Linked DNA regions of Homo sapiens: regions 1, 3, 4, 5 and 6 are each linked to region 2. The links are contacts of gene promoters, found by promoter capture Hi-C in blood cells and fetal thymus (Javierre and others, 2016). All regions are on one chromosome and are shown on one strand. The core of a region is centred on a gene start or on the middle of the fragment in contact, and the rest is flanking DNA. Distances in the headings are between cores, read along the strand shown. Region 1 overlaps ENAH (ENAH actin regulator). Region 2 holds the start of TMEM63A (transmembrane protein 63A). Region 3 overlaps ENAH (ENAH actin regulator). Region 4 overlaps ENAH (ENAH actin regulator). Region 5 overlaps ENAH (ENAH actin regulator). Region 6 overlaps LINC02765 (long intergenic non-protein coding RNA 2765).

Region 1 (4,282 bases), core at 1,614-4,113, 350 kb before region 2:
CAGTAATTTCTCCTCTAAACCCATAGGCAAAAGTGAAGAAAATTACCACATTAAAGGTCAAATATATACTTTCTGTCTTATACCCCAAAACCTGCATATAAATTAATTCAGTACCAGAAACTTCTTAACTTTTTATTAGAAATTTTATTGAGGTTTCTACTCTCAAATTAGCCCATAATGTTCACTGTGGAGGTAATACTCAAATGTAAAATAAACACGTAGGAAGAAAATACAAAACACTGTGTGATTAAGTTACAGGAATTCAGAAAACAAGAACATCAGTGTGCCTGGAGAAGAGTCTACAGAAAATGACAACGTAGAAAGGATATGAGAAGGACATGTCAGAAGAGGTGAATGCTACACACAAACACAGAGCGAAAGATGAGTATGGTGTACACAGAGACAGTCATGAGGGGGTGAAACACAAACATGGGGTGAGTTCCTAAATGCCAGGCCAAAGAAGTAAACTGATGTGAGGAGAGGCAGCCATAAGGAATGCTGAGCAGGGAGATGACAAGACAGGAGTGTCTGGACTCTTATTCGGGTTGGTAGATTGAGGAGTCCTGTAATCTTCCCCAAAATTCTACTAAAATTCCAGAAACATCATTAAAATGCATATAAATAAACCCATGACCAAGTAGAAAACTGAAGGTGGTGGTCATTAGTAGGGCAAATTTATCATGAGATTTCCGGAAGACAGAAAGGGTAGGAGTTATATGTTTAGAATTCTTCCTTAGTCTCCTAGAGACTAATATTCAACATCTCTACTTACATGTCCAGTAAAAATCTCAACCAAACATCCTCAAAATTCATTTTTGACATCCCCCAACAAGACCTGCTCTACGCAGTCTTTCACAACTATTGATGGCAACTCCATCCTTCCCACTAGCTTAGCCTAAAAACCTCAACCCCTCTCCTTCCCTCATCCCCACCATACAATCCACCAAGACATATAAGGATCTGACTTCTCAACAACCACTTCTATCACCTGGGGGAAGCCACCATTATCTCCTGCCTAGTTCACTGCAACAGCCTCTTAACTGGCTTTCTTGTTGAGCTGCTGTCACAACACTGCACCTGCCTCAAGTCGTCTCTCAATAGTGTAGGCTCAACAGAGCAGACTGACTGATTCTGCTAAAATTTTAAGTCAGATCATGCCTATGTTCAAAACTGTACAATGGTTCTCCTTTCTCTCAGAGTAAAGGTTAAATTCTTCACAGTAGCCTGCAAGGTCCTGCATGATCTGACCTCTACTCCTAATACTCTCTTGTGCTCCAGCCTCCACGGCCTCCTTGTTTTCCCATGTACACACAAGCATCATCCTTCCTTAAGGCCTCTGCACAGAATGCACTTACATAGGTATCTGCTTGGTTAATTCCTTCTTTTCATCTCAATGAGATCTACCCTGACCACTCTATTTAAACTCACAAGTACTGAGACTGATAAGTAATGGACGGAAAAATAAAATAAAATTACAACCAGCACTTCCCTCTGCCCCTTCACAACATATAATCCTCCTTACTCTGTTGCATTTTTCCCCATAGCACTTACCATCTTCTACTATACCATGTCATGTTTATTGTCTGATGAGTTTCAGGCTTTTTGTTCCCTCCACTCTCCCCACCCTTCCCAATATAAGTACTTAGAACAAAAAATGCCTGTGACATAAATAAATGGAGCAGTGGAGGCATCCATAACCCAGAACACATACTGAAGACGGTCAAAGCAGACATGGGAAGAGGAATCTGGGAAAGATCTAACCTGAGGTCAGCAGGTAGAGAGAACGGGAATGAGCAGTGCCACAATAATCAAGCTGATTAATAAGTATATACACTGTCTGAAGAACAGCTGTACCAGCTCCTCCCCTGTCCTCCCCAACCCCAGCTCAATGGATGGAATGGCATTTACCACAGAAGACTGTTCTCTAAAGAAACTGAACAAGCTGCCTCAGATGAGTTGGGGCTTCCAGTGGAACTTTTAGTAGCTCAGCGTTTGTGCGGTTCTGAGGCCTGCCTGCTCACCATCCTGGTACTCCAAAGGTTAGCCTGTCAGCCTACGTACTCTGACCACTTTCAGAGAACTCCTAGTCATGGAAGAATGCTGCCCAGTAGAGAATGATTTTGTATTCTACTACTAAACCCTATAGTAATATCTGAAGATCAATGTGTTACAGAAACAGCCAACAATATTTCAACTTTTTAGTTAAATTTGTCACATGAAAATCATAGTACTCACAGATCACTTTATAATTACAAAAGTAAGACTTCTTGAACCATAAGAAGATTTTGAATTCTGTTAAGCGTATTTACAATATTTTAAACATACCTTAAGTATAATTTTTACAAAAAAAAACACATATGAAATTTTATAACATCTCATGTCCAGCATAACAAGTATCTGGTAACTTACTAATGACAGTCACAAAACTTACTAATGTAAGAATAAAAGTTGTGACTCTTAAACAGCTGATAAGACATAATCTACTTTAAACACAGGATGTTCAGTTTTGTCTTCTGAAGCATAAAGAAAAAGTACAAACAATAACTTGAAAATTTACCTTCTTTGAATTTCCAATTCTTCTTGGGATGGGCCATTTTGAACTTGAGCAGGTAGTTGTGAGTTTTGTCTAGGCAATGTTGGCCCTACAGAGGGAGAAAACATTACAGATGAACATTATTTTCATATCTAGCTGGACAGAGGAGATAAAATCATGAGAATAACATAAAACCATCACATATTTACAAACGTGTCTTCTTTTTGTCTAGCAAAATAAAATATAAGCTTTACATAACACAGAGCAAATGAAAGACTGCAACATAATACTGTCATCATCTCCAGAAGGCTTACTTGAAACAAATGGAAAACATCAACAATAAGGAAAAAGAAACATTTATATATGAAGAGCTTGAGTAAAACAAGTGTTCGATGAGCATCTGAAGAGGCACCTAAGCTTGACAGTTTCTAAGACAATGAGACATTCTCTTTGGGGTAATTATTCATGAAGTGGAGAGGGAGAACTTAAATGAAAAATCAGAATTCAAAAACTCACCTAAATAGAACACTGGAAATGAAAAACAGGAGAGAGAGAGAGCATGAGAACCTTATTACTAGACTCCAGTATGCTAAAGCATTTATCAAATTTGCCCAATTTAAGCTGCCATTTTTGTCTAATAGCCTAGCATTTCCAGCACTGGTGAAAACAAACATTTGCTAAACTTCCATATAGTAATTAACCTACTGAACTGAATTTTTAATGTAACAGGTAATTTTAAGTTTTCATTTAGGGTAAGAAGAAAAAAAAACTTGCATTCATACAACATGGTTCTGTCATGAGACACTAATGACCATCCATTCCCACATATCATGTACAATGCAGACCTGTTTTTTGCATCTTAGATAGAATGCCACTGAATTATGGGACATCTTAATGTCATTGGATATAAAAATCAAATCTGTCACAAAATGAGATAAATACTGGACCTAATATATAATACCTAGGGTTAAAATAGAACAATCTTAAAGTCTAATCCAGTAAACAAGAAAGTAAAGAAACAGTAGTTATCTTCCACTCTTGGAGAAGAATATATGAGTAATGACACACTACATATATTTGTGAATTCTAGTGTACCAGCAAATGCTCCTAACAGATATTCTGAAAGATTTGTAGACAACTTAGGAAAATAAGTTACGAAATAAATGCTTCTGTGCACTAAATTCTTGTAATCTATGGGCTAATTGTGCAAAGTATTTTATACTAGTGGAGTAGATTTCACAACCGGAAGTAAAGATTTATTAGGATGTAATGCAGTACTGGTGTATCCCAAGTGTGGAAAAACAGAATTAATTTGATCTGAACTTACCTACTAACTTTTTTTCTCACCTCTTTACAAATGTTTTTAGATTAATCACTTTATTTGTCCTCTAAAGACAAATTGATGACAACTGCAGTGATATATTTCATTAGATTTCCTAAGAGTCTGCTATTTTGAGAACCAAATAAATATTATAAAAAAAAATTAATCCCATGTAATCAATAACAAAAAAAAACAAAACTTTTGAAATTAAATACACACGTAAATGTTTGTATAAATGAAAATACATGATTGCTGTCTAGTAAACAGACTAGAATTCTTTTCTTGGGAAATTAAAATAATGATGTAAAAACAGACTCTCCTATTAGGCTATACACAAATGTTTAATACTTTACAGAGAAAAGACCTCTCTTCTGGGGACACACAAGTGTGGGGAGGGGCGGGTAAATCTGAGGTAGCATGAAATTATT
Region 2 (4,370 bases), core at 430-2,929:
GCTCCCAACCCAAAGTTCAACCCATGTGCAGGCAAGCGTCTGATTGTGGCCAGTGGGAGAGGGCTAAATCCAACAGCTGGTCTAAATTTGCCAAAGTAAACTACCTATGCTAATCCACTGCCAGTCTCCATTGGCAGCAAGGACTGGCCTGGTGGTCAACTTGACAAGCTCTAGAAATACCAGCAGAATGTTGCAGGAAGTATATGGATATTGTTCGTTCTTGCAAGAAGGCCCGTACAAATTCAGGGTAATTTTATCATCACCAAATCTTTCAATCCTGTGATGACAATAGCGAAACTACAAGCAGCTCCAGGCCTTCTGCCTCAGGAGCTAACTCTGGTCTTTCAGATGCAGAATAAGGTTGCAAAGTAAAGTACAAACTTCTCCTTATGGCAACACCAAACAGGACCCAGTAACCTGGACAACTGTTTACCTCCTACCCTGGAGCACAAAGGAAATGACACAGCCCCTGGCTGAAACCAGAGGCAGTGTGGCTCAGGGATTATGTGAGCAGGCTCTGGAGTTAGGGTCTCAGCACCACGCAGTTCAGACAAGCAGCCTAACCACTCTGTGCCTTGGCTTCCTTCGCCAGGAAATGCGAGTGATGACTTTCTCTCACGGAGCTGTTGGGAGGCACAGATCCCAAACAACACCTGTAAAGCACTTAGCCCAGGACCCGGCCCTAGCAAGCAATTAGAAGCTGTCTGCCTTTATTTTAAGTCGCCCCTCCAGCTAATGGGAAACACAAGGGCAGGATCCCACCTGACGTCTTCTCTGTTAGAGCCCAACGAACAGCTAGGAGAGACCTTTGCCCCCACACTAAACAAAGGAGAGGGGCGTGTGAAGGGAAAAGGAGCCTCGGCTTCCGTTCATATCCCCCTTGAAGGCACAGCAGACTTGAGGATGACCTGAGAGGTGTCAAGGGAGGGTCAGTGGGTCCGCCACGCTGTCCACCCCTGCCCTTGAAGAGGACACCACCTGCCTGGGGCTGAATGACCAAGGCCCCTCCAGGGCCTCAGGTAGCTAGTCTTATCAGGTGCTGGAACCTTTGCGGATTTGGTTTCTTAGCAGAGCTCGCCTCACCCTTTCCGCCCCCGCCCTTCCCCCCAGTCCCCGAGTCCCCAGCCTCCCTCCTCAGGACTCCGCCAAGGCTGCAGGAAGTGGTCACCCAGGAACAGCCCGAGGGGTGGCCTCTGCCTTCCTGGCGTCAGGAGAGTCGGACGCTTGGCCCTTTCCCAGCCCGGCCTCGTATAGGGTCCGAGGAGCCCATAGCTGCACTCCTAGTTAGGTGGGAGGTCGGACTCCGCCGACAAATCCCAAAGAGAGGGGTGGGGAAGAAGGAGATACCAGCCCTGAAAGCGAAAAGCCGGAGAGGAAAGTCCTGAAAAGCCGCCAGGAATTCCCAAGGAGCGCAGGGCTGGAATGGAGGCGCTGCCCGGACCCTCTCCTCCCACCCAATCCCGCGTCGTCACCCCCTGCTTGGGGTCGGGGGCTCTGGGGTCTGCGTAGGCTGGGAGCCGTTCCGGAACCGGACACCTGGCGCGCACGTCCCGGGAAAGGCGGAGGGTGCATTGCCCCTCCTCACGCCCCCTGTCCCCTGTACCTGCGGCGGCGGCGTGTCTGGCGGGACCCAGCAGCGCGGGGCGTGTTCCGACCACTTAAAAGTTACAAAGTGAAACTCCGGCGCCTCCTGCACATGCGCAGAGCTGCGGCCACCCCTTTCCCAATTTGGAGTCTTGGCCCGCGGCGGCGCAAGCCTGTACGCAGCTGACTGCGCCTCCCGCGGTGGCCCTCGGCGGTCCTCTGCCCCGGCCTGGCCTCCTGGTCGCCGCTCAGCCCCGCAGCTCCTCCCGGAGGTCTGCAAGCCCCGGACCGGCCAGCTCACGTCCAGGCTCCAAGAAGGGATCCGCCGGGGCGCACCCTCTTCCGTCCCCCGGCACGAGCCCAGTCTCTGGACGCCTCCGGGAGAACTGGGCCAAGCACAGGGTGGTCGCGGCGCAGGGAGAGCATCTGCAAACGTTGGTCCCTGTAGTGCTTTGAATTTCCCCGAAGAGCTCTTAGACCCGCCCCGGGAGAGTGGGGTTGCGGGGGTGGTAGCATGGGGAGCTCAGCAGGATTCAGCCCGCACCTCGGCTCCGGGTAGTCGGGAACCGCGCGGAGCGCCCTGCAAGAGGCCACGGCTCCCCCGCCGCTGTAGAAGGCCGGACCGTGAAAGCCCGGAGGGTCTCCGTTCGGGCAAAAATGTGGGGGCGGGTCGCAGCATTTCCAACGCCCCCTGGGGCTAGTCCATTACTGCTCGAGCCAGGGCCGCCAAGGGCACCTACTCCAGCCCAGGTCCGAGAGCGCGGCATGCCTCCCGGCCGGGAGCCAAATGTTTCCAGGGAGCCGGTGGCCTCCACAACCGGACCGCAAGCTCGCGAGGGCAGGGCCGGCCCGCCGCGCCAGGGACTGCTGGGCGCTGCGCGGGAAGCGAGGCTGGGTTCGGGGAGGACCGCGCGCCCTGGGAATCAAGGAGCAAACCAACCCGTCCGCAGGCCCCTGTTTCCCTATCTGTGAAATGAGTGGTTGGACCAAAGCTTCCTCTCAGGTCCCTTCCAGCACCCCTCTCTGAGCTCTGAGCAGTCCTCACCCCACATGCATGCCTTTGCAGGTTCTCCGACCTCCCTTCCATTTCTGAGCTTTCATCTTTTTCTGTAACGGCATAAAAATATCCTCCTTATGGCCGGGCGCGGTGGCTCATGCCTGTAATACCAGCACTTTGGGAGGCCGAGGTGGGCGGATCACCTTAGGTCTGGAGTTCGAGACCAGCCTGACCCGCATGGAGAAACCCCGTCTCTACTAAAAATACAAAATTAGCCGGGTGTGGTGGCACATGCCTGTAATCCCAGCTACTAGGGAGTCTGAGGCAGGAGAATCGCTTGAACCTGGGAGGCGGAGGTTGCGGTGAGCTGAGATTTCACCATTGAACTCCAGCCTGGGCAACAAGAGCGAAACTCTGTCTCAAAAAAAAAAAAAAAAAAAAAAAAATTCCTCCTTACCTCCCTGTCCCTGATTCTAGCGCCAGTCTGTGGCTGTCCAGGAGTGGGGTGGGGAGGGTCTCTTCCTGCCTCTCTCAGTTCTTTTCTGTCCCATCTGTCTTTCCCCTTCTCTCCCCAAAGCTCTAGCCACTAGTTATTTTCCAGGGTTTTTCCTCTATGCCCCCCGCCAGTATCATCTCTGCCCTTGTCCCTCCATAGCTGCGCCTGGCCATCCCCCCTCCCTGCTCTCTTACCTCCACATCTGACGGTCTGCAGAGTCCTGGGTGTGGCCCCTGGACTCCCCGTTGGCTCCTTAGACTGTCCCTGTCCAATCTTTCTTCCACTCCCCACTCCCGCACCTGCCTGTCCTCCTTCCTTCCTCAATGAATGGTGCCCCCACCTGTCTGGTCTGTGCCATGGGTCCAGGCAAGTGCAAGGTTCCGGTCTTGGTAATTAGAATGCTGGAGCCACTGACAAAGATTTCAGAGAGAGAAAGGATTTCTAAATTTGTTCTTGAGTAGGTTAAGGTTATTTCAAAATCAAGAGAAGGCCTTGATGGATCGATATGTGAGTTGAGATAGCCACAGCCTTTGTTATGTCAGTTGTGTGAAGTGCTTGTAAAATCACTATTTTATTTTTTAATTTTTAATTAATTATTTACTTATTGAGACACAGTCTCACTCTGTCGCCCAGGCTGTAGTACAGTGGTGTGATCTCAGCTCACTGCAACCTCCACCTCCTGGCTTCAAGCGATTCTCCTGCCTCAGCCTCCCAAGTAGCTGGGATTATAGGCATGTGCCACCACACCCGGCTAATTTTGTACTTTTAGTAGAGACGGGGTTTCTCTATGTTGGTCAGGCTGGTCTCAAACTCCCAACCTCAGGTGATCCTCAGGATTATAGACGTGAGCCACCGCGCCCAGCTGCACAGCTCTTACAGCTATAAATTCCAGATCCTCTGAAGCTTTATTTTCTTCTCTAAGTATAGATGATAATTTTGATCACAGATTTTATTTTGATGCAAGTAGGATTGGAATAAAGCCCAGTCACTATGCCCAGGAAAGTCAAAGTGTCAAGAACAAAAAAATTTCAGTATTGGCCGGGCGCGGTGGCTCATGCCTGTAATCCCAGCACTTTGGGAGGCCGAGGTGGGCGGATCACAAGGTCAGGAGATAGAGACCATCCTGGCTAACATGGTGAAACCCCATCTCTACTAAAAATACAAAAAAATTAGCCGGGCGTGGTGGCGGGCACCTGTAGTCCCAGCTACTCGGGAGGCTAAGGCAGGAGAATGGCGTGAACCCATGAGGCGGAGCTTGCAGTAAGCGGAGATCGCGCCACTGCACTCCTGCCA
Region 3 (4,342 bases), core at 628-3,127, 330 kb before region 2:
TTTTGCTTTCCTAATTTCTCACTCTAAACTGACTTCCCTCAAAGGCGTTTTTAAAAATGCTTTGAAGATCTTGAACTGAAGGCCAGACAAACGCAGTAAAAATAAATGGCCTGAAGGCTCGAAAACCCAATCCCCTTTGTGCCTCCCTTTCTAGGTATGGACAGCCTGGGGAAATCCCAGCTCTCCATGTCAACCTTTCTAATTGGAAATTGGGAGTGACAACAGACATATTAACCTCACATTACTGTGATTCACAAAAGGGAGGACTGTGAGAGGTAAGTATGAGAAGAAAGTAGAGCAGGCAGACCTACGAAAAGACTGTCCCCACCTACCCAATCCCCAAACCTGTTACTCACTTAATACTTAGTGAACAGATTTTTTTTTTTTTTTTTTGAGGCAGAGTTTTTACTCTTGTCACCCAGGCTGGAGTGCAGTGGCACGATCTCAGCTCACTGCAACCTCCGCCTCCCGGGTTCAAGCAATTCTCCTGCATCGGCCTCCCGAGTAATTGGGACTACAGGTGCCCGCCACCACGCCCAGCTAATTTTTGCGTTTTTAGTAGAGATGAGGTTTCACCATATCAGCCAGGCTGGTCTCGAACTCCTGGTCTCAAGTGATGCACCCGCCTCGGCCTCCCTAAGTGCTGGGATTACAGGTGTATGCCACCGCACCTGGCCAAACAGATAGGTTTTATAGGGTTCAAAATGTTAATTCTCCAATAAGATTAGTTGTTTCGGAAAGCTAAACTAAAAAACTTTGTCCAGGGTTATCTTTGGGATTCTTTTCAGGTCCAAATTTTTAAGATTTCATGAAAGCATTAATAAAGAACCGCAAATGGAGTATATCCAGAACCAAATGTGTTATCTGCAGCACAGTATTTCCTCTTCCATCCTCTTTCACTCTGTCTCTGGTTAACAGGACCATCTTTACCGGGGGCCCAAACTGACACACCTGGTCATCATTTTAAAACACTGTTCTCTCCTTCCCGGCCTGCCCATTACATCTTACTGACAAAGAGAAAAGAGGTTGAGTTCTAAGACCTCGGTACAAAAGCCACTAATGCCACTGTCTAGCTGTGGGTCCTCGCATCACTACAGTAGTGACCTTCTGTAAGTGCCAATCTCATTTCTAAAACAAGGATAATACCACCAACCTTGTAGGGTTGTTATAAAGATGATTGGTTATGTATACGCCAGATTAAGACCAAGCACACAGAAGGTGACCAATAAATAGATCATTATTCCTGCCTCAGAATGGCTTTAATTTCTATGTGAGGACAAAGGTAGAAAGCTAGAACACTGCCGTGGCAGGTATAGCCAGCACTAAATGAAAGCTGGTCACCTCCTCTTCATTCTGCTCCTCTCCTCTCTCTACTTTGTCAGTTCAGGCCTCATCTTTCTCACCGGTATTATTACAACAGTGTCCTGAATTGATCTTCATGCTTGTAAACTTGCATGCTCACCACACTTGTCCTAAAGCACAAACTTGATCATATCAATCCTTTATTTAGCATCCTTCAATGACTCTTCACCACCTCCATGATAACATGCACACTCGTCAGCACTAGGCCCTTCCCAACCTTATCTCTTGGGATGCCCTGCTCCTGACCCCCACCACATAAATTCTCATGTCCAAGCCACATCATGGCATATTTGTTATTTCCCAATTGCTCCATGCTCTCATGCTTCCAAACCTATCTAGAATGTTCTATCACTGATGAGCCCTCCCCATTCTTCAAACATAGCTGAAACATCACCTTCTCTTCAAAGCTTTCCCTGACCCTAGAATTTTCTTTGGTATTCCGAAGGCCTTTCTTCACACTACATTCGCAAGCTGTATCCTAATTTTGCTGGCCTTGTTTCTGGCAGCTGTAGCCCGACTGTGACATCAGGCAAGGGACAGGCTTTATTTATCATTTTTGTATTATTCCCAGTGCCTAACACAGTTTATAAAAAATACGCTTTACTGAAAATATTTTTGTGATATAAGCTTAATATTGTTTGCATTAATATCAACAATCTGGAAGACTAAAAAACAAAACTGTCACTATAAAGTATTTCTAGAAACTACTGAGATTTTTTTAATCCTATTAATTCCAAACATAAAGAGATTTTTAAATGCTGTGATAAAACTCATACAAATGTACATACTGGAAGGTATGTCAGGCCAAATTATCATTAAAAAATGAAATCTCAATATTATAAAACCTCTAGAAAATTTCAACCATAAGGAAGGTATGACTTTTGACCATGTTCTCATGTTCAATAGATTAAAAAATAAAACCCAGCAAAAGTAGTCTTTTAGATAATGGTAAAATACTTATTTTGGGGTGTTCTTTTTGAAAAGGCATGCTTCATCTTGGCTGAGAACAAAAGCAGTGGGATAATCTTACTGGTTATGCATATAATTTTCTTTTTTTTGGATTTAAAAATTATTTCCTATTTTCAAATGATTTAAACCTTTTAAGAAAATAAAAGTTGGGCAAATTTGCCTCCACCAATTATCACAAAAATTAACTTTGTAGTTTATATAATCCATAACTATTACCTATAAAAATCTATAAATGTACTGGATAAATAATAGAGAAATCAAAAATATCACTTTAGGTAATACACCCATTTAAAATTGAATCCATTTCCATGGAGAAAGGAAAAAATACACTGTAGCATTTGGTATAAAAGGAAGAGCACTAATTCAGCTCTTTTTCAAAAATGTTAGAACATGTGATTTGTGTTTTTTTAACTTCCAAATATAACTCACTGTATTTAGCACCTTCTGTACTTTCCAGTATATTAGATAATTGCATACCAAGTTAAAAACAAAATAAAGGAAAACATTTCTGCCACCCACCATTTTCATTAAAAAAAGGAAATATCACACAAACACACAGAGCACCTTGTAAAGGTTGGTATGACTAGCCCCCCAGAAAGCTGTTTTTTATAAATTTAAAAAATTTGAGGACGTAGGGGACACGGAAGAAGAGGAAAGGAAAATTATGTGATTATTGGTTTTAGCACAAAACGTGAGCTAGTAATTTTCAAATTCAGTTCTAGAGAACCATGGAGGCATCTCAGTGGTTGCGGATCCGGAACCCTATATCAATCAGAGAAGCTCCATATTTTCTGTCCATTTATACACTGAACTACCAAAGATCTCATTTGCACAAAAATGTCCATAACTTTTTAAAGTCTGAAAATCACTGAGAAGGATTAGCCGATGACAACAGTGGATAATATTGATATTAGCACCTAATAAATAAAAATACAAACAGAAATGTTTAATATGGAAAAATGTTTTAACAAGTGGTAAAACATTAAGAAACAGGCAAGACTAATATTTGTAGTTGCTTTATCAATAAGTTTGTTCTGCTTCTCATCAGTTTTATCAGGCTACAGTTTGTAAAGGGAAGGGAGATGTAAGTTAAGCTTTTTCAACTTGGTTTTGGAAGAAAGACAGTAGATGATTTCAGCAGCCAATTGGCTGTGAATCCAAAGCAAAGATTTTTGGCAGGGTATGATCAAACTGAGAGGTGACATTATTGGGTATGTTTGTTTAGATAAAGGGGAGGTGGCCCATATAATGTTGGGGTAGGGTACATACCTTTTCTACACTGGAGAATCTGCGTAAGAAATTATATCTATTCCCAAGAACACTCCTGATTCTTTTTTTTTTTTTTTTTTTTGAGACAGAGTCTTGCTCAGTCGCCCAGGCTGGAGAGCAGTGGCACGATCTCAGCTCACTGCAAGCTCCGCCTCCCGGGTTCACACCATTCTCCTGCCTCAGCCTCCCGAGTAGCTGGGACTACAGGCGCCCGCCACCACGCCCGGCTAATTTTTTTGTATTTTTTAGTAGAGACAGGGTTTCACCATGTTAGCCAGGATGGTCTCAATCTCCTGACCTCGTGATCCACCCGCCTCAGCCTCCCAAAGTGCTGGGATTACAGGCGTGAGCCACCGTGCCCGGCCCTGATTCTTAACATCTTACTCTCTCCCATGCTTCTACTTCCACACTAATTAAGGCCATCAAAAATAAGAAATAGTATTTAACTACAGTAATTTATGAAAACAGTCATTTTCTAAGTAAATCAGACTATTTAGAACTTAGCCATTCTATATGGTTTTTTTTCCATGATGAAAAACTACAGAACTAAAAGCTTCCTTGCCAGTGACTGATCCACAATACCAGGAGGCAGCTGTGATGGACTCATTTCTTCCACCATTATCTCTCTTTCCTCAGCCCCTAGTATGAGTGGTTGAGATTGTGACTGAGAATAAAGTATCAAAATCATCTAACAAGAAGCCTTTTTCCCACACTAAAATGCTTGTGTAGCTTGTAAAATGAT
Region 4 (4,538 bases), core at 1,814-4,313, 390 kb before region 2:
AAAAAAAGTATTTAACCTTCTAAATCTCATAATAGAAATTATGTACGTTGTTCTTTAACCAGAAAGGTTCACTGCTGACTCCCCCACCTCTCAAAAAACAAACAAACAAACAAACACCACCAAAGCTTTCCGCCATTCATGCACATGCTTATTCTGACCCCAACCCCATCCCTACAAAGGGGCAGCAGACAGCACAATAGTCAAGGACAAGGTTTTTATTTATTTATTTATTTATTATTTATTTATTTATTTTTTAAGGAGACAGGCCTCGCTATGTTGCCCAGGCTGGCCTCCAACTTTGGGCTCAAGTGATCCTTCTGCCTCAGCCCCCCGAGTCGCTGTGCCTAGGAGCACGCACCACCACACCTGGCTTAAGTAGAAGGTTCTGAAATCTGCCAGAGGCTGAGCAACAGAAAGCTTCCAATGAGAACTCAGAAGGCATTCACTCTGCCTGAAGTTGTGCTCTGCTCACAGCACGAGTGTGGCTGTCCCTCTCTCGCTCCCACCAGCTACATAATAGGGACTTTCAGGATGCTCCTATAAATACAGACTCCAGAGAGGTTTCCTCAAAAATTAAAAAAAAAATTCTATGCAAATATGTAAGTACTGTCATTGAGGATTACAGAAATACTTTGCATCAACTACAGATGTCTCAAAATAGAATTCTTTCTAGCTCATTCAGTTTTGTTAGAAACACTTCATGTTCTCCAAAAAAGAAAAGCACCTAACGAAAAGCATGTCCTATTCATGCTAGCAAGAAATGAATCCCAAAGGACACGCACCAAGAACCAAAGTAAAAGAATGTCAGCAAAACAGGACCCATCTTTTATCATCCCAAACTGCTATTTCCATCTCTGACTTTCTGCCAAATTATCTTTATCTTCCTAAGACGAAGCAAAGACTCAGAGCCCTCAAATGGCACGGAAGCGGCACCTGGTCTGCCAAGACATTGCTGTTAAACAGAGTCTTTTGGATTAAAACCAGGGAACTCGGAAGGAATGACTACATGGATATAGATGGATAAGATGGAAGATATAAAATAAGAAGGGCAGGAGGGTAAGATTATTCCTTTTTTCCTTTCAAGGCTGACAGTGATAGAATAAACAGCAGCACAGCAGGTTCAGATGATATGAAAACCACTGAATTCTGCCCAGGAATTGAAAGAAGGGCTTCTTCACTTCATCGAGCTCTGGAAAGTCTGTTTACTTAGAAACAGCTCTTGAACTACAAGAGTCAAATGGACCTTCTGCTATTCATATAATTGGAGCATGGATCTCGTGTGGTCCCATTACATGATTGGAATCAGTCTTTCTGAACGGCAGAATGTGCTTCCAGGTTGAAGCACAATGGAGAATGTACTGAAGCCACCACAGAGATGCTGGTAATTCAAACTGTGAAAGCACGTGGCGCAGAGGAAACTGACACAGAACAGCACACCACTGGTGCTTTATGCAACACCACTGACCCCAAGATGGTCACTCCATTGATTTTTCCGCATTGTTTACATCCAGGATGCATGCTGTCCAGTGCAATAGCGTCTATGACTATAAAACAACTAAAAGCTGCACTTAAGATGGGAGAGCCAAACTCAGATCTTTTTTCTCCTTCTCTTCAAAGATCAAAAGAAGAATAAACCAAAAAAGATTAAAAAAAAAGAATAAACCAACCAGTAGCTGCCGAGAATACAGTGAAAGAGGAAATTCAGAACTCAACTTTATCGGGGATGGGCACGGTCGCTTATGCCTGTAATCCCAACACTTTGGGAGGCCAAGGTGGGTGGATCACCTGAGGTCAGGAGTTCGAGACCAGCCTGGCCAATACGGTGAAACCCTGTCTCTACTAAAAATACAAAAATTAGCCGGGTGTGGTGGCGCATGCCTGTAGTCCCAGCTACTAAGGAGGCTGAGGTAGGAGAATCGCTTGAACCCGGGAGGCAGAGGTTGCAGTGAGCTGAAATCACACCACTGCACTCCAGCCTGGATGACAGAGCGAGACTGTCTCGAAATAATAATAATAACAATAATAATAAAAAGCTTTATCTATCCTTGCTTGTATAGTGGCAAGGAAAAAATAAAAACAAAACAAAAAGAATTTAAAAAAAGAACTCAACTTTAGAGGTAGAAGGCTCAGAGAGAATGACTGACTAGCCCCACAGCCTGAAAACTGGTAAAGTCAGTCCCAGTCCAATGACCTGCCCACAACTCCACACACAAAAAAGGACAGACTGAGAGAGACTGAGGGCGGGAGGAACACAGAGAAAGGGAAATCAAGTCCAACAAGGTGGCAAAGACATGGACTCAATAACAATTTTTACCATGTTTTCTTTCAGAAACAAGGACATTTTATGTGAGGATCAAATATTCTCCCTTCAAAAACTTCTGCAATTGAAGGCCGAGGCGGGCAGATCACCTGAGCTCAGGAGTTCAAGACCAGCCTGGGCAACATGGTGAAACCCCATCTCTACTAAAAATACAAAAATTAGTCGGGCATGGTGGCACGCGCCTGTAGTCCCAGCTACTTGGGAGGCTGAGGCAGGAAAATCCCTTTGAACCCAGGGGGGGGAAGTTGCAGTGAGCCGAGATCGCACCACTGCACTCCAACCTGAGTGACAGAGCAACACTCCGTCAAAAATTTTTTTTTGCAATTGAAACTTAAAATGATCAAGCCCAAAGTACCTCTGGGAAGGACACCAAATTGTAAAGTCCTGACTCAGGCCTGAACCTCCCATCCCTCTAGTAATAAAGAAGAAAGGAAATGCTACCTAGATTTTAACAGGGCTTTCTTCTCAATATCTAAGCCTTCCCAATTACTTTCCTCAGATAAACTATAAGCTATTCTTCTCCTGGAAATTTAAGTGGCAAAGTCAACGTCTTTTACCAACCATCCATGGGCTATTGCTGAGTTGCGGAACTAGCCTACAGCTAACTCAAATTCATCACCTCAGACTCACTGTGATGCCCAACCACTGGCACTGGGGTGGCCTTATGACTTACGACAATCAAATGGGGTTTGTGAATCCATGGTTAAGCTAGCCTGCCACCAAGGATGGACAAACCTCAGACTTGATCAATGGGTGGAGGGAAACTCCATATTTAAAATGCCCAGTGCCTCGGTCAGCAGAACCAACCAAGTGACACCTGAGATCAACTGGTAGTAATAATGAAAAGCTGGTATTTCTCACATAAAACACGTTGAAAAACATTTATTTATTTAGAGATGGAATCTCGCTCTGTCGCCCAGGCTGGAGTACAGTGGCGCGGTCTTAGCTCACTGCAACCTCCACCTCCTGGATTCAAGCGACTCTTCTGTCTCAGCCTCCCGAAGAGCTGGGATTACAGGTGCCCACCACTATGCCCAGCCAATTTTTTTGTATTTTTAGTAGAGATGGGGTTTCATCATGTTGGCCAGGCTGGTCTCAAACTCCTGACCTCAGGTGATCTGCCCACCTCAGCCTCCCAAAGTGCTGGGATTACAGGCGTGAGCCACCATGCCCGGCCATGAAACATTTATTTTTAAAATGCCTTTAATCTTTAAAAAAAAAAATAAAAGAAAAAGAAAAAAAGAAAAGAGGTTTCACAGATGTGACTAAAGCATGGACTGTTAGGCGCTTAAGAGACCAAATTTTTAAAAGCGTTCTGTAATGTATCTCTCTTATATGGTTGCAACAATGTGTATTTTAAGTGTAAGCCAAGAACCTTTTCTCTCAGTTTCTATAGACTTGGATGGAAACTTTTGGACTTGATGGGAAAATTAACTCTCAATCTAAACACTAGCCAATGTAGACTTTTTCTTCTGAGTGCTTTTTCCTATGGAATTCAAAGTACCAACTATTCAATTCTCGATTTTCTAAGCCTTCTTAGAAGAATAACTATTTACTAAAACCCAACCAAACCAACCTATAACATCATCCATCTCCTTTATTAGTTATTTCTTTATGCTTTTAGAATTGTCATCTACTGCTGAAGAAATCTTTCTTGGAATTGAAGGGAACAGTTAAATCAGATTTACATGATAAACTATGGGTTGTCATTTGTATATAGAACTTTTACGGAATAAATGTAGTCTAACAAACTGGGCTCTCTAATGAAATATGTAAGCTTTTCTAATAATTTCTATGAAAAGCTATATTCTCTTAGAATTTTTTTTTTTTTTTTTTAGAGACAGGTTCTCGCTCTGTCACCCAGGCTGGAGTACAGTGGCATGATAACGGCTCACTGCAGCCGCGTCCTCCCTGGGCTCAGGTGATCCTCCCGCTTCAGTCTCCTGAGTAGCTGGGATTACAGGTGTGCACCACCATGCCTGGCCTAAATTTTTAAATTTTTTTGTAGAAATGAGTCTCCCTGTTACCCAGGCTGATCTCAAAACTTCTGGCCTCAAGCAATCCTCCCGCCTCTGACCAGTTTACCGAGCTATTTAGATGTCCTAACTACTAGGAATTATATGTCTTTAAAAACTGAGGAAAAAGAACAGCACTACTCAAATGGTATATTCTTTTTACTCTCAGCCACCAACTGGGGCCCCTAATTTTCTCCCTCTGC
Region 5 (4,542 bases), core at 1,066-3,565, 370 kb before region 2:
AAACTGTAGGAATATAAGCATTTCTCTATAATGGTTTCTTATGGACCACTCTAGATATTAACTCATCAAGTTTATTTATGTCATTTCATTCCAGAATAGATAAGGAGTTCAATAGATAGTCCAGCCCTTAGTCTTTAATCAAATATGAAGAAATAACATGTGAATATGTAATGAGTTCGTATTCTCATCTTGGATACAGTACTCATCAAGTACTTCTAGTGAAATATACTTTTGTTAATATTCTAGGTGATTTATCAGATGCTCAAGAATTCTCAATGTCAGAAATTTCACTGAATTCAAGAACACTTCCCCAAAATTTTAAGGAGACTTTTTAAGTTTACAAATCAGAAACTTTATTCCCTTAATTATCAATATCACCCAAATGAATGGCTAGGACATCCTTCTCAATTTGAGAATGTTCTGAAGCAGACTGTAGTACTAACTAACATGCTCACTTTATTTTTACCTCTAGAAAAACAATTATGAAAAATACTCTTGTCATCTAATAGTACATTAATATTTTCCTTGTTTTAGTAAGTAACCTCAAGAAAGTAACAGCAGCTTCCAGGAGGAAAAAAGTGAATGCTTTCAGGTGGGAACAAAGAACTCTGGCATTTTAGTGTCCAGTCACTTGGTCCAAATATGGGGAAAGGGGGAATTTTTAACTGGGGAGTATTAATATTTAGAGAAAGTTTATAAAGGTTAAAATATTTATCTTGAACTTACCAGGTGTACTTGTTGAAGAGGCCTTAGAAGTTACAGGCTCTGAATCTTCCTAAATATACAGATATATATTAATATCACATCTACCAGTCCCCTGTTGCTATATACATTTAGTGTTTTACACGAACACTTCTAATATTCTTTCTGCCACTCCCCACTTTCTCTTTCATCGGTCTTCTCTCCCTTTCATTTCAGCTTAGACTTTCTTCTCCTGTCTTCAACCATCTTCCCTTCAACCCTCCCCACAGCTCCTTTCCTCATGTGTTCTCCTTGAGAACTTTCACTAGCCAATGCTACAAAGCCAGACACGAGAGACAGATTTGAGGAATGGCATCTAAGGTGGCCAGATGGAGCAGGGGGAACATATTATTTGTTGCACACCAATATACAGCACAGACAAAGCAGAGTTTGCCCAGCTGAATCAGGGAGGAGGGCATGAAGGTTACACTCTGAAGGGGCACAGCCAATAACCATCAAGCTCCTAAGGGAAACATATGAATTTAGGCGAATTCCTTCCTTTTAAATTAATGCAAGGGAACTGAGATTCTAAGAGATGAAAAAAGTAGTGAAATGTCATTCACTCATTTAAGGAACAGAATTAAACTCCACAGGTTTGAACTTCAATGCTTTTCCCATAATTTCACATATTCAACTCACTTTACTAAGACTGCCATTAAAAATTTATAAATAACAGTCAAAACAAGCCACTTCACATGCATAGTTAAAAATTAGCAAATATAAGTTCAAACTAATTAAGCCCAAATTAAATAAATGCTGACACTATTTCCTGAATGAGCTGTGCCTGAATTCCATATTTTAAGGTATGGTAGACTATCTTTATTAACTTACACCTTTGTCCTCTTTTTGTTCTGTTTCTATTGTTGATCCCTTTTCAGCAATTCTTCTCCTACAAAGAAGGCAAATCCGATTTTTAAAAATATTATCTGATTCAGTATAAAAACCACTTCTCTACGAGGAAAGAAGTGCATCTAGTTAGTTGTATTTGGAATACAATTAAAATCCTCTCAATTCTGGGCATGTCCATTATAATGAAATTCCTTACCTCCTGGCCAGCAGGGCACTCATTTCTTCCATTAAACCACTACCCCCTAAAGGAAGGGGTCCATTTCCACGGCCTGTATCTGTTTTAGATGAGGCGGAGTTCACACCAATAGCATTCCCTCCACTTGGGAAAGAGGTATCCTCCATCTTAATGAGAATATACAGACATAATCAACTCCTATGTTAGACAACCATATTTTTATTAATATATTACATCTAAAACAGAAGGAAACATCAGCATTAATTTTAAAAAACCTAAATATTATTTTTTAAGCTTTAAGAACCAATAGATTCTTAGCATGACTTTATATATCAACAAGAGTTTATCAAAACTACTATCACCAAGAATGCAATGAAACAGTATCATGTATCTCTTCCTGTGCTGCCATGAAAAGGGCATGACTTTGCTCTGATAATATTCCTGCTAAAACAACCCCTGCATAACTAGAATCTAATCTTGAGGAAAAATCAGATAAGCCAAAGTGAAGGATAACAGGCAAAATAATTGTCCTACAGTCTTCAAAAATGCCAGTATTATGAAAGATTGAGGAACTGTCATAAAGTATATCAAAGAGACATTATAACTAAATGCAATAAATGATCTTGCACTAGGAAAAAAACTGTCACTAAAGATGTCATTGGACTATAGATGAAATTTGAATAATACATTTGTAGATTACAGTATTCTATCATGTTAACTTTCCTGATTTTGATAATTATATTACTGGTTATGCAGGTAAATGTCCTTGTTCTTATAAAATTCACACTGAGGTACTTAGGAAAATAGAAGCTTGTGTCTCTGAGTTACTCTCAAATCATTCAAACAAAAGTGCATGTGTAGGCCGGGTGCGATGGCTCACACCTGTAATCCCGGCACTGTGGGAGGCTGAGGCGGGTGGATCACCTGAGGTCAGGATTTCAAGACCAGTCTGGTCAACATCGCGAAACCCTATCTCTACTAAAAATACAAAAATTAGCTAAGCATGGTGGTGGGTGCCTGTAATCCCAGCTACTCAGGAGGCTGAGGCAAAATCGCTTGAACCTGGGAGGTGGAGGTTGCAGTGAGCTGAGATCGCGCCATGGCACTCCAGTCTGGATAACAAGAGTGAAACTCCGTCTCAAGAGAAAAAACAAAAAAAGTGCATGTGTAAAGAAGGAAACATATCCAAAGAAGGAATAAAAAAGCAAATACTGGTAAAATGTTAATGGGTGAATGTAGGTGATGAATTTATAGAAATTATTTATACTATTCTTACAACTTCACTATAAAAATTTAAATTATGTCAATTTTTAATTTTTATTTATTTTATTTTTTGAGACAAAGTCTTACTCTGTCACCCAGGCTAGAGCGCAGTGGCATGATCTCGGCTCACTGCAACCTCCACCTCCCGGGTTCAAGCGATTCTTCTGCCTCAGCCTCCCGAGCAGCTGGGATTATAGGCATGTGTCACACATCTGGCTAAGTTTTGTATTTTTAGTGAGATAGGGTTTTAACATGTTGGCCAGCCTGGTCTCGAACTCCTGACCTCAGGTGATCCGCCCACCCCAGCCTCCCAAAGTGCAGGGATTATACAGGTATGAGCCATTGCGCCAGGGTAAATTATTTCAATTTTTTAAATCAATGAAGTTCATAACATTTCATAAAATTAGAATACAATAAATTCAACATTTTAGATATTTAGGAAGAATAAGACATATTAAAAAAATTTTTCAGAAAGGTATTTACCCGTGACACTTTCCTAAGTTTTGCTCCGGCAATTGCAGCTGCAAGTCCAGTTAAAGGGCGATTGTCTTCTGACATGGATGCCAAAAAGAATCCAGATGCAGGGAGGGGTGGGGCAGGAGGTGGTGGAGGAGGAGGGGGTACTTGATTAGGGAGAGGAGGGGGAGGAGGGGGCGGTGGAGGCCCGGTGGATGGGAGTGGAGGAGGTGGAGGGGGCCCTGGGGGAGGAGGGAGGGCTACTGAAGCCTGTGCAGGCCCTGGTGGGAGTGGTGGAGGAGGTGGAGGTGCAAGTGGTCCCAAGACAATGCCTGAGAGAGAGAAATGTTAAGTAAGACCATCAACAATAGAGCTGAGTGATATTATTTTATGTGGGAAGGTACGCAGAATGCCATGCTAAATTAAACTGACTCATGTATTTACTTAATGAGTCCAATTTATCATAGTTGTAAAAGTCTAGATCAGTTTTTGAAAGATACTGAAATGTAAGGTCCAAGTATATATAACTACTTACTTTAGGTTAGAGCTTTAGTAATAGAACTATGCAACAGATCATCTAATTAAGACTTTTTTTTTTCATGGGGATTTGGTAAATAAGCAAAATAAATACTTATAAAATTTGGAAGAGAGGTAAGCGTCCCTGAAAAAACAAACTAGTATATAGGATGGCAGTTAGTACTACTTGAAATATCAGACCCAAAATAATCCACATTAACCTTAAGTGTTGAGACAGTAAATTCAGTAACAGTGAACACATACATTTAATTGTTTACAGTCAAAGTGGCTGTATTAAAAACATGAAGGAGGAGTAAGTCCCAGCTTCAGCATTTTAAAAAATACTTCACATTTAAATTCAATGGATAGCCAAGGCTGAGAATCACTGAAGTAAAGGAATTTACTAGTACAAAGTAAAACCTCAAAATAACGCTCGGAAATAATTAAATACCATAGGATTTGAAGTAGAGTTGTTTTTATCCCACAAAATGGGGGGCAAGAAGAGAAATGTTCAAATGTTATAAAATCACAAAGGGAGTGAA
Region 6 (4,361 bases), core at 1,477-3,976, 430 kb before region 2:
CTGCTTACTGCAACCTCTGCCTGCCAGGTTCAAGCGATTCTCTGCCTCAGCCTCCTGAATAGCTGGGACTACAGGTGTGCGCCACCATGCCCAGCTAATTTTTGTATTTTTAGTAGAGACGGGGTTTCACCATGTTGGCCAGGCTGGTCTGAAACTCCTGACCTCAGATGACCTGCCTGCCTCGGCCTCCCAAAGTGCTGGATTGTAAGCGTGAGCCACTACGCCCAGCCGAGTTAGACTTTCTCTAAGAACAGCCCCTCTGTGTGTTTTAACTTAAGTGAGAAACAACATGGGTGAGTCAGTGGTTGAAGGCAAGAGAGACACGGGAGAGACACTGATGCCCTGTCCATCCCTTCTCTGGGCCTCAGGGCATTCCAGCAGGTAGAGAACTCCACCCTCCTGCCTGCCTATCAGTCTGCTTGGTCTTGAAAGTCTGCTGCACAGAGTGGGTAGTGGCCATCTGAATCAGTGCTAACACAAAAGCTAGACAGCAATGCTTACAGGCTAGCCAGGAAAATGTTTTTACCAGAAAATTGCTTGAGAAGAGAACACAGAGTTTCAGTAGGGACATGACGATTGAGGATGGAAATGCTTGGTGAAGCAGAACATCCTGGCGTAGCCACAAGAAAACACAATAACCTTAAGGCAGTCACTCGAAGGCATCCTGGAGCCCCAGGCAGGGAGCATTTCACTTCACCAAGGCGTCTGGGGCCATCAAGTGGGAGAAAAAACTGAAGCCTAAAGCTCCTGCTACTGCTCTCTGAGCTCCCAGATCCCTGTACCTGACACCTGCCACACCTGGCTCGGCAGGTAACTAAGACTGGAAGAACCAGATGAGGAGTGGCTCTGCCACACTTATTTGAGAAAATGTCTGAGTAGTATCTGTCCAGCTAGGTCTTCCTGAGTTTCCCATGGCTCTTAAAGATTAGACATCATTAACTGAGTTTCCCAGCAGCACACCTGCCTGAGGTAGATTACAGTGTGGACTATTCCCTGTGAGAAGCTTCCTGCAGCATAGCGCCAGGGAAGGGCTAACCAAGATCGTGTCTTTGCAAAACACCTTTCAGACTGCAGCACCCCCAGGGTGAACTTCAGAGTCACTTTGATCTCAATTAGCATTCTTGGATATTATAAACAAACACCTAGACTCCCAGGGAGGGGAAAATCAGTACCCCAGGAAAATCACAGGAGATGGAGTTCTCAGGGCTTTATCACAGGCTGGCCATCGAAAGCCACAGGGAGCCCTCAGGCTAGCCAGGGTCACATCTCACCTCTGCCCAGCCACCCCAGGTGTTTCCTAGAAGCCCCCCCTTTTCCCGCTTTGGCCTGCCTGGCTCTTTTTGGCTTCTGAAAACAAAGAGAGGAGCTGTGTGCAGTCAGCCTGAGACACGTGGGAAGATGGTTGCTGCCCCTGCTGGCCCTAAAGCTCCAGAAAGCCAATGCCACCGTGCAGGCGGTGGAGAGCATATTCTGATATGGGAGGAGGAGGCGTCCGCAGACCCCTAGTTCCTAACTTTGGGTCATGGCCAAGGGACCTCCTGGGGAAAACTGCGTGCTAGAGAGCCGGTGAGCATATCTTAAGTTAGGCCCAAAGGGGACTGGGTGGGTTTCTTCCTCCAGCACCCCTGCTCTTCCCAAGAGGAGCCCCTTTCCTTCCCTGAGCTTCCCCTTCCCAGGCTCCTGTTTTGACAGGATGCCTGGGTCTGATCACAGCCACAGGCCCGTTTTGGGCTGTGTTCCCCCTGGAGTGTATTGGCCAAGGAATTCCTGGAGCATTTGAAGAAAGGCCCCTTCCCAGGGGCAGTATTCCTCCTGTAATTAAAAGGTTGCATTTCAAAGACACTTTTAATGACCCCAACCGTTGTTGCCAGAAAGAAAATGCTACAGAAGACGTGACTGACAGATTGCAGGGAGAGTGTTCAGCCCAGTGCTGGTGCAGATCCCCGTGAGGACACAGGAGCAGGGGGTTTTGTCATCTTGAGGACCCATAGCTGACCGATGTTCATGCACGCAGGAGCATGTGTACCAGGCACCGGTCTAGTGGGAGAGTCAGAGGAGGTTGCAGCGGGCACAGAGTGGGCATGCTGTGATGGAGGCCAGGCGCCTGCAGGGGAGGACATCCTTATCTATGGGACCTGGCAGGTAGAGGGGAAGGCACTCCCTAGGGAAGGGCCAGAACAGACCTTAGAAGGGTGTATACTTGGGATTTAGATGAAGGAGAAACCTCCTTTCCTCTCACTTCCCTCTCTCCTTGTTCTTCCCTCCCCGAGGGCCCCTCCTAACCCACTCCACTGCACAGCCTGCAGCTTGGCCAGAGTTCCTTCCCTACCAGGACTCACTGTCTCGCTGGGGCCTTGAACCCTCTCCCCCCACCAAATAAGGTGCTGGTCTGGAGCTGAGCACACACCACAGTGGCCAGTTATGGTCAGTCTGTCACTCTGTTCCTTCTCATCCGAGAACTCAGAAAGCATTCACTGTCACTGGGCTGCGATCCCAGAACAGCCGCTATTCAAAACATCTTTATAAGGTCTGATTCTGCCTCTGCCTCACCCCAGCCCAGCAGAAGTCGACTTGGCTCTGGAAACATGATGGATTTTTATTCAGTGTTTTATTGGCCAAACACATATCTTCGGGATAAGATCTTCGGAAACTCACAGGGTTTGATGGAAATGCTCACAGCCTTCTTCCACACACATCTCTGTCATCGCTGGCTTCTGGACTTTTCGTTACTTTAGCCTGGGATAATATTCATCCTTCACTTCATCTGACCGAGACACAAGGAAAGTTTATACCTCAAACTATGCACGAAGCAGAGGAAGCTCAGTTTCAGGGATCTTTGTGAGGTTGTCCTGGATAAGGGTCCCGTGAGTCTCTCAGAAATTTGTCCTCCCAGAGTCAATTCAACCTGGGGACTTGTCATAGCTCTGTGGCCTCAAAAGCCTCTCATTCCCAGGCACTGTGACGGGAACACTGGGCTATTGTGTGACAGGGCTAGCTAGCGTGTGCACAGCTCTCGGCTGGGATCAGAGAGAAGTTTGCAGGCAGACCCAAGGTTTTAGAATCACAGAAATCTTCACATCTCTTCCCTTCCCAGGACCCTCCATCGTGGCTTCTGGCTGAGATTTTAGGAGAAGGATGCTCAGTCCAGTTGGTTTTCAGGTTGTGTCCACTCTGGTGAGAAAAGAGTCCGGCTTGGTGGGGGTGGGCAAAAGTTAACCCTCTCAGGGTCTGAACTTTGGGGTGGCCTCTGGGTTTCAGCGCCTCCCTCTCATTGAGTCCCAGGCTGCTGACCCCCCTGTCTGGATGTCCTCATGGTGCCTGGGGCATCCTGCCTTGGGTACCCACTATTTCTGCACCCCAAGGGCAAATTCTGTGTCTTACTTGGTGACCCAGGCGCCACCTTCAGAGTAGGAATTCTATAAAGACTCCCATAAAGCTGAATGAGGGAAGGACCCAGCAAAGGGTGGAAAGCTGAGATTGAGGAGCTGTGCTTGGGGAAAACCCCACATAACTGTGTTCTTTTCAGCCTCTCTATTTGCTTGGATCTCAGCTTAACACAATTTTGGGTTTCTTTTTTTTGTTTTGTTTTGTTTTTCTGAGACGGAGTCTTGCTCTGTCGCCCAGGCTGAAGGTCAGTGGCGCCATCTCAGCTCACTGCAACCTCCGCCTTCCAAGTTCAAGTGATTCTCCTGCCTCAGCCTCCCAAGTAGTTGGGACTACAGACGTGTGCCACCACAACTAGCTAATTTTTGTATTTTTAGGAGAGATGGGGTTTCGCCGTGTTGGTCAGGCTGGTCTCGAACTCCTGATCTCAAGTGATCCACCCACCTCGGCCTCCTAAAGTGCTGGGATTACAGGCATGAGCCATTGCACCCAGCCACAATTTGTTATTGAAAAAAAAAAAATTCCCACTCTTCACTACCTCAATTCAATCATAGGGCCACCTGTATCCTCTATGCCACCTCCTAGGCTGGGCATTCACCCGTCGAGCTTACAGGATGAGTCAGAACCCATCCTTGCTCTCCCGGAGCCTGAACTCTAGAGTGGGTTGGGAACAAGGAAAGGCAGGCGCCGACTGCCAACTATACGGGTGCATATCTCAGCGCGGTCACACCCTTCTTGCCCAGACCTGCCTCTGCTCTGTCCTCCTGGCCCCTGAGGAGCACCTGGGGCAGAGGAGGAGCCCCTAGGAACCTTCCATGATAGAGCACAGGAGTCTGCAAGCGGTTGATTTGGTCTCCTCTACCCGGCCCCTCCCTCTCTCTGGACCCTGCAATGTCGAGGTAGAGAGTGTTATTCCCATTTTACAGATGAGGACAATCAGATTCAAATAGGTCAGGTGACATGCCCACAGTCGCACA

What was found. The method cuts DNA at HindIII sites, captures the fragments that hold promoters and counts their contacts. A CHiCAGO score of 5 or more calls a contact.
Region 1: a contact is called between a fragment that was not itself captured here and the fragment with the promoter of TMEM63A in region 2, in 1 of 17 cell types (naive CD4 T cells). The highest score is 5.5, in naive CD4 T cells.
Region 3: a fragment that was not itself captured here is called in contact with the fragment with the promoter of TMEM63A in region 2 in 2 of 17 cell types (naive B cells and endothelial precursors); the score reaches 6.3 in naive B cells.
Region 4: a contact is called between a fragment that was not itself captured here and the fragment with the promoter of TMEM63A in region 2, in 16 of 17 cell types (fetal thymus, endothelial precursors, naive CD4 T cells and 13 more). The highest score is 11.1, in fetal thymus.
Region 5: a fragment that was not itself captured here is called in contact with the fragment with the promoter of TMEM63A in region 2 in 2 of 17 cell types (naive B cells and erythroblasts); the score reaches 5.4 in naive B cells.
Region 6: a contact is called between a fragment that was not itself captured here and the fragment with the promoter of TMEM63A in region 2, in 2 of 17 cell types (erythroblasts and non-activated CD4 T cells). The highest score is 6.1, in erythroblasts.

The regions. Positions count from the first base shown.
Region 1 is chr1:225,527,997-225,532,278 of GRCh38, forward strand. It overlaps ENAH (ENAH actin regulator), which reads right to left. Exons shown (of 14, transcript NM_018212.6): 4 at 2,558-2,642. Among named protein-coding and RNA genes, the nearest start is that of LINC02765, 62 kb to the left of the region's middle. The HindIII fragment of the contact is 169 bases long and covers 2,780-2,948 here.
Region 2 is chr1:225,880,701-225,885,070 of GRCh38, forward strand. It overlaps TMEM63A (transmembrane protein 63A), which reads right to left and starts at 1,680. Exons shown (of 25, transcript NM_014698.3): 1 at 1,604-1,680. RefSeq lists enhancers at 1-236, 2,439-2,488, 2,549-2,598 and silencers at 1,089-1,208, 1,769-1,928. The HindIII fragment of the contact is 8,028 bases long and covers 1-2,574 here.
Region 3 is chr1:225,548,473-225,552,814 of GRCh38, forward strand. The region is part of intron 3 of ENAH (ENAH actin regulator); the gene reads right to left. Among named protein-coding and RNA genes, the nearest start is that of LINC02765, 83 kb to the left of the region's middle. RefSeq lists an enhancer at 521-1,020. The HindIII fragment of the contact is 220 bases long and covers 1,768-1,987 here.
Region 4 is chr1:225,487,946-225,492,483 of GRCh38, forward strand. It overlaps ENAH (ENAH actin regulator), which reads right to left. Exons shown (of 14, transcript NM_018212.6): 14 at 1-4,538. Among named protein-coding and RNA genes, the nearest start is that of LINC02765, 22 kb to the left of the region's middle. The HindIII fragment of the contact is 2,064 bases long and covers 2,032-4,095 here.
Region 5 is chr1:225,511,085-225,515,626 of GRCh38, forward strand. It overlaps ENAH (ENAH actin regulator), which reads right to left. Exons shown (of 14, transcript NM_018212.6): 7 at 3,512-3,816; 8 at 1,787-1,932; 9 at 1,573-1,630; 10 at 727-775. Among named protein-coding and RNA genes, the nearest start is that of LINC02765, 46 kb to the left of the region's middle. The HindIII fragment of the contact is 516 bases long and covers 2,058-2,573 here.
Region 6 is chr1:225,445,415-225,449,775 of GRCh38, forward strand. LINC02765 (long intergenic non-protein coding RNA 2765) reads right to left here. Exons shown (of 3, transcript NR_187303.1): 3 at 2,590-3,171. Among named protein-coding and RNA genes, the nearest start is that of LBR, 20 kb to the left of the region's middle. RefSeq lists enhancers at 737-1,297, 1,298-1,858, 1,859-2,418. The HindIII fragment of the contact is 3,451 bases long and covers 1,002-4,361 here.